2 separate regions of the Homo sapiens genome follow, and region 2 is linked to region 1. The links are contacts of gene promoters, found by promoter capture Hi-C in blood cells and fetal thymus (Javierre and others, 2016). All regions are on one chromosome and are shown on one strand. Each heading gives the region's core, a stretch centred on a gene start or on the middle of the fragment in contact. The rest is flanking DNA. Distances are from core to core; before and after follow the strand shown.

Region 1 (3,365 bases), core at 646-3,145:
TGGTTTTCTTTCCATTTGTGTTATGCCACAGAGAGAAATTTCCTGTCTGAACTCTTCTGCTGCCTGCCTAGGAAGGAAACCTGAAGATTTGGGCAGCCTGAGTCTCTTGGTTTCTGAGCTGGCTCCTGAATATATGTTCAAGTGGGTGTGCCCATAGGGCCTGGGCACGTGTCTCTAGCAAAACCAGGGCCTGAGCATAAGAACTGGGACCCTTCTAGGCAGGGTGCAGTGGCTCACGCCTGTAATCCCAGCACTTTGGGAGGCCCAGGCAGGCGGATCACCTGAGGTCAGGAGTTCAAGACCAGCCTGACCAACCTGGAGAAACCCCGTCTCTACTAAAAATACAAAAAATTAGCTGGGCGTGGTGGTAGGCACCTGTAATCCCAGCTACTTGGGAGGCTGAGGCAGGAGAATCTCTTGAACCCGGGAAGTGGAGGTTGCGGACCTGAGATCATGCCATTGCACTCCAGCCTGGGCAAGAAGAGCGAAACTCCATCTTAAACAAACAAACAAAAAAAAAAGAACTGGGACCCTTCTGCCATCTGACATAGCCCAAAGCACATCTCTATCCTTTCTCCCAGTTGCCCCTCTCCTTTTTTGTTGTTTTTTTTGAGGTTGAGTTTTGCTCTTGTTGCCCAGGCTGGAGTGCAATAGTGCAATCTTGGCTAACTGCAACCTCCGCCTCCCAGGTTCAAGCAATTCTCCTGCCTCAGTCTCCCGAGTAGCTGGGATTACAGTCATGCATCACCATGCCTGGCTAATTTTGTATTTGTAGTAGAGATGGGGTTTCTCCATGTTGGTCAGGCTGGTCTCAAACACCTGACCTCAGGTGATCTGCCTGCCTTGGCCTTCCAAAGTGCTGGGATTACAGGCATGAGCCACCGCGCCCGCCCTGCCCCTTTCCAAGAGATATGCTCAGCATAATGAGAGATCAACCGTGGTGGGGAGTGGGTCCAAGTAAGGGTTCTCATTGTTGCCTTTTAAGAGGCCTAAGTCCTGCATTAACTCAGTCCAACCATTAAGTGATGCAGGCTGCTCTTCCCTCATGTGAGAAAAACCTGTTTCCCTCTGGTTCTTCCTGGCTTTGCACCTGGTGGCTATTACAAAGCAGTACTGCAGTATGTCTTGGACCTGGAAAGTTGGACATGTGTGTGGCTCAACAGTTTTCTCGGGGGAGTTCAGTGACCTTTTGGTGGCCACCCTCTGTTCTCACCTGTGAGTTCTTGCAGGTGGCGACTTCATCTGCAAGGTCACTTACATAGCCCCACTCAGCTGCTTCGGAAAGCGTGACGAAGCAGTAGTCCTCAGTGTGTGTGTAAGTGAAGAGGACCTTGTGGTAGCAGGGACCATGCTTCATTCGTGGCTGTGTCCCCATCTGAGGGCCTGGTATGCAGTAAGATCAATAAATACTTGTGGAATGCATGACTGCTGGCTGCCTGTGTCTGCCTGGTGGGAGAGCTGTGGAACTAGGGGTCCACATGAGGACAGACTACTGTGGTGCTGCCTACCTGCCAGGCTGGCCCACCTTCCCCACCCCCACTTGACCTTACTCTCTTGAGGTCCTAAAGGTATGATTCAGACCTTTCAGCCCTTTCCAGAACTTTGACCCTCTGGAGACAGGGCGGTTCTGCAGGGGGCGGTCTAGCCCCTAGCTTTGTTCTGGGCAGCCCAATCAGCTCTGGATTGCCCGAGCTGCCCTGAAGAGTCAGCCGAAAGAGCTGGAGGCTTCTTCCCTGTGGTTGCGGGTTCCTGCATTCTCTGCTCTAAATCCCAGCCTGCCCTTGGGGCTGCCCACGCCCCCTTCAGATCCTTTGCTCCGGAGAGAGACCTGTCCGAGCAGAGGCCTGGACTACATCTCCCGGCGTGCCTGGCAGTGTGGTGGCCTCTGTGCGCCGTCTGCACTCGTTGCAGGCGACGATGCAGAGGGCTGTAAGTGTGGTGGCCCGTCTGGGCTTTCGCCTGCAGGCATTCCCCCCGGCCTTGTGTCGTCCACTTAGTTGCGCACAGGTGGGATAGAGGGTGCTGATCTTGGAGGGTGGGGGAGGGAAGCGGCTGGGGGCTAGGGCCCTGGTGGCACTAAGCCCAGCCGCCCACAGGAGGTGCTCCGCAGGACACCGCTCTATGACTTCCACCTGGCCCACGGCGGGAAAATGGTGGCGTTTGCGGGTTGGAGTCTGCCAGTGCAGTACCGGGACAGTCACACTGACTCGCACCTGCACACACGCCAGCACTGCTCGCTCTTTGACGTGTCTCATATGCTGCAGGTGAGCCAGGGGAGCACACTGGCCATCTGATCAGGCCTTCCTCCCTGTTTACAGTGGTCCACTCCTTGGCTTTGTTTGCTGTGAACTGGATTCCAAGGACAGCCTTCTCAGAAGAGCTAGAGGTCATGGGGGTGTCATGGATAGGTCAATGGCCCCAAGGAAATGAGCTCAGAGGGTCTCATCATCTCATCCTTCTAGCTTGCCCCCATTAAATGGTGTGCCTTAATGTCCCGGGTTTTCCAGGGCTGACACCCACTCTCATGTATTGGGCTGGATGTTGGTTTGAAAAGGGGTTATTTCAGGAAGGTGCTAGGTCCTGTCCAGTTCCCTGGCAGTCCCCCCACACAGAGTGACTGGGGGAGGTCAGGAAATCAGAAGGTGGTCCTTTGCCACGTGTAGAACCAAAAGACTGGTTAGTCACTTTGGGTGGGCTGGACTGCACTGTGGATGGCAGGGAGGATGCATCCTTGCTTAGTAGCCTTTTGGATTGTAGCTGTTGCAATGGCCTGAGGCTTTCAATCTCTTCCCCAGACCAAGATACTTGGTAGTGACCGGGTGAAGCTGATGGAGAGTCTAGTGGTTGGAGACATTGCAGAGCTAAGACCAAACCAGGTGGGCCCTTTTATTTCTGCTCTATGAGTTTTCTTAGTCATGAGCCAGCAAATGGGCTGAGTCCCTACCTCAGGCTTAGGGGCACAGAGATGAGTCAAACACAGCTTCTCAGGGCTTGCAGTCTTGGACAGAATCCCTGAGTCATTTCCAGAGACACAGACATTTGTAGGGAGGGGAATATCCCAGTCTTACTACATCAGGCTAGGAGGCCAGAAACCAAGGTTAATATGCTGCTCTCTGGCCATCCCTTCTGCTTAACCCCTCTCTATTCAACATGTGGTCCCTGGCCAGGCGACGTGACTCAAACACCTGTAATCCTGGCACTTGGGGAGGCCAAGGCGGGTGGATCACCTGAGGTCAGGAGTTCGAGACCAGCCTGGCCAACATGGCAAAACCTCGTTTCTACTAAAAACACAAAAATTAGCCGGGCGTGGTGGCGCGTGCTTGTAGTCCCAGCTACTCGGGAGGCTGAGGTTGCAGCAAGCTGAG
Region 2 (3,191 bases), core at 677-3,176, 260 kb after region 1:
GCACTCTGATGAGCGCTCCCAAAGAGTTCCATCTAGGGCATACTGGGCACCAGGAGGCAAAAAGTTCGGCCCTACCACCCCCAAAGGGAGCTAGGTACCCCCATGATCCTTATCCCTAATCTCTATCATTTCCCCAGTTCTCATGTCTGGAAGGGACACAGCACAGCCGGAGGATGGACCTACCCTTCCTGGTTTTCCATTTGCCCTAACTTCTGAGCTGAACATCACCAGAGAGGGGTCTGGATATAACTGTACTGTTGCTATCCCTGGAGGATGGGCTCTGGCTCTCCATGGAAGGGGTTTCTGTTTGCACAGCCATGGCCCACCTGCACACAGGAGGCCAACACTGCCGGCTTTGGAGAAGCTGCAGAAGGTAACTGGTTGAATCGGTCCTGAATAAGTGAACAGTCAATCTTCAACCATGGACGGCCAGAGACTGGACTCACCCACAGCTGGGGACTGGGGGCACCAAGGTGGGGCTTCCTGACTGCACCCCATGAGATCCTGGCCCCTGGGACCCTACTCTTGCTTTCTCTCCACCAGGAAAAAAAGGCTAGAAGCACTGACCCCAGAGGAACAGGAGATTTTGCAGTTCCTGCTAGATACCTTGGCTATACTTAAAAGCAGCGAGGACCTCACCATTAGTGCTGAGGCCCTGGGAAGCTAAGAGGCACCAGATGAGGCCTATGGCACTGCTGGGTGGACTAGGCACTTGTCTTTAGGAGTGCCTGGACCCCTCTGTATAAGCAGGGAAAATACAGAGCAACCAGAGGATCCTGGTTGGAAAAAGGGCAGGAAAAAGGGCTAGTACCCAGTCCCTAAATGAAGCATCCCGCCACCCTCCTGTGATTGCCAATAGGCTTCCACCTGACCCCAACTACCAAATAAGGCACCACTGCAAGGGTCAGAGTCCAAGAGTTGTGGCAATATTTCTGCCTCCTGGCTCAGGCTCTGACCCTAGTGCAAATGCCCCCACTACCTCATCCATGAAACCAGGGCTCCCAGGATGGTTCCCAACCTGGACTTGCAAACCTCTGACTAATGGGACCTTTGGTCAGAGCTGTGGAGACCACTCTGACCTCTCACTGAAGTCACAGACCCCTAGGGTTGATTTTGACCTGTGTCCTATAACCACCACCCCGTACTAGCCCAAGAGCATGGATAAAAAGACTGAGGTCCCAGACTCCTAGGCAAAAGGAAAGGGGTTCTGGGCAGTGTTAAGACTGGAAGCAGGACTTCCTTCCATTGAGGGGCTGAGGCTGGGCCAGTGACTATACCTGCCCCCACCTGCCTGAGCAAGTATACTCAGGCCCACAGTGGTATACTGGAGCCCCCAGACTCCATGTGCGCTTGGGCTTGCGTGCACCACTTGTGATCACGTGCACACCAGCCTTTCATGCCATGTGCCACAGGCCCTATTCTCAGGAAGAGAGGAAGGCCTGCTGTCCTCGGAGAAGATACCCTTACTGCAAAACAAAGGAGATCACCTGAGACTCCCTGTCAGGAGGCACTCCTCTTTCACCCTCTGGTCAGGTGTCTGGGACTGAAGTGGGCATTGTCAGTGGCTAAAGATAGATCAGAGGGTGGAAGATGGCCTGAACCTTGTCAGGAGCCCCTCCCAGATGTCAATGCACCACTAGCTCCCCTCAGAAAAGGTGTCAGATGACCCCTAATCCAGTCTTGGCCGGGCTCTAGTGAGTCCTTGCCTGGGGCCGCGTCAGAGGGCACCTCTGTTCTTCAGACTTCTGCACAGGGCCGAACGGGTTTGGAGCAGTCACCGCGGCCACCACCTCCAGGCAGTCCTCCTTGGTACCCAATCTGCTCCGCCCCCAGACTTTGTGGGGAAATGGGGTCTCAGGGGTCAAGGGTCGGTAGGGCGGGCTGGGTCCCGGAAGCGGAAGCGCAGTGCACTTCCGGCGCGCAGCGGGCGGCCATGTTGGAGCAGCGGAGGCGGCGCAGAGGCGCGTCTTGGGTCCCCGCGGCGGCGCCGGTAGGTTGGAGCCGCGGGCCTAGCCGCGCCGCGGAGGGGCGGCCCGCGAGGCGGCAGGGCGGACGGGCAAGCGGCCAACTCTTCCCGGACCCGCGTCCTCCGCCGGCCTGGCCGAGACCCCCCACCCCACCCCCACCCCGCGCCCAGCGACCCCACCCTGGGGCTGTGCGGTCCCGGTAGGGCTAGCACCGTTCACCCTGTACATTTCGCTGCCTCAGTGACCCCCGCCTCACGGCTTGGGCCCTAAGGACGTGCATTCCCAGCCTGAGGGCCCCGATCTGCCCCCTCCCCCGGTCTGCCTGTGTGGCGCCTCTCTCACGCCCTATCTTCCGTCAACTTCTCCTGCCTTCCCCGGGGGCACGTGTGAAGGGAAGTCGGAGGCCGGGCAGGAGCCTCTGTTTCCGAAGCTTCTCGAAAGCCCAGAAAACCCCTCCCAAGAGCCCAGCCTAACCTGGGTGGAAGAGCCCCCAGGTCACCCCAAATATTTGCGCTGGGGCGCGTGTGAGGGTGGGAAATAGGTCCCTCTCTCTTCTACAGTTCACAGCTCTGGGAACTACATCCCTTCAAAAAACATTAATAAAGAACTAAAGTCATGTGCAAGGATTGTGCTTGGAGAACGGTCTCTGGGGAGGGGAAGTGCCCAAGACACCTGAGGATCCAAGAATGTTTCCAAACAAAGAGCCCTAGGGCATTTCCTCCAGGGTATTCTGAAGACTTCATCTGCTGCATTAGAGCGGTGGGAAGAAACTACACAGACGGGCCTCATGGCCCGAGGGACCTGCCTGATCCTGGCTGATCTTTTAATGCTCTGGTGCAGCTGGGGAGCTGCCTCTTGCTTCTGGGAACCCTCAGTGTTGGGTTGGGTATTAGATGTTAGTTATGATTGATGTCCACAGCTTCTTTAAAGAAGTCTGGGAGTAGTTAGGTGTTCTCAGTCACCTCCATCTGGGCTGTACTGAGGTCTGTGGCCCTCCAAGTCTTAGGTAGGACAGTGCATACCGCTAATGTCCCCTTGACTCACCATCCTACTTGCAGCCTTTGGCTCCCATTGTCCTTAAACTTTGGGATCTTGGTCTGGCTTCCTGGTCCCTGGTCTGCCTGGTTGCCTAGAGAGATGTCATTGGCACCTGCTACTCATCAGCTTTTTAGTTTCTGTTGAAGAAAAGTCCGACTCTTGATTAGGTCTCCATGCCTCTGGAGC

Evidence for each region. Contacts are between HindIII fragments. The CHiCAGO score rates a contact against its expected background, and 5 or more counts as called.
Region 2: a contact is called between the fragment with the promoter of CCDC71 here and the fragment with the promoter of AMT in region 1, in 1 of 17 cell types (endothelial precursors). The highest score is 7.1, in endothelial precursors.

Annotation. Positions count from the first base shown.
Region 1 is chr3:49,421,003-49,424,367 of GRCh38, reverse strand. AMT (aminomethyltransferase) reads left to right here and starts at 1,895. Exons shown (of 9, transcript NM_000481.4): 1 at 1,895-2,007; 2 at 2,097-2,264; 3 at 2,796-2,876. The coding sequence starts at 1,918. NICN1 (nicolin 1, tubulin polyglutamylase complex subunit) reads left to right here. Exons shown (of 6, transcript NM_032316.3): 6 at 1-2,035. RefSeq lists enhancers at 1,514-2,267, 2,268-3,020. The HindIII fragment of the contact is 5,136 bases long and covers 1-3,365 here.
Region 2 is chr3:49,165,066-49,168,256 of GRCh38, reverse strand. CCDC71 (coiled-coil domain containing 71) reads left to right here and starts at 1,926. Exons shown (of 2, transcript NM_022903.4): 1 at 1,926-1,990. RefSeq lists enhancers at 1,645-1,764, 1,785-1,854 and silencers at 2,005-2,084, 2,105-2,164. The HindIII fragment of the contact is 8,654 bases long and covers 1-2,399 here.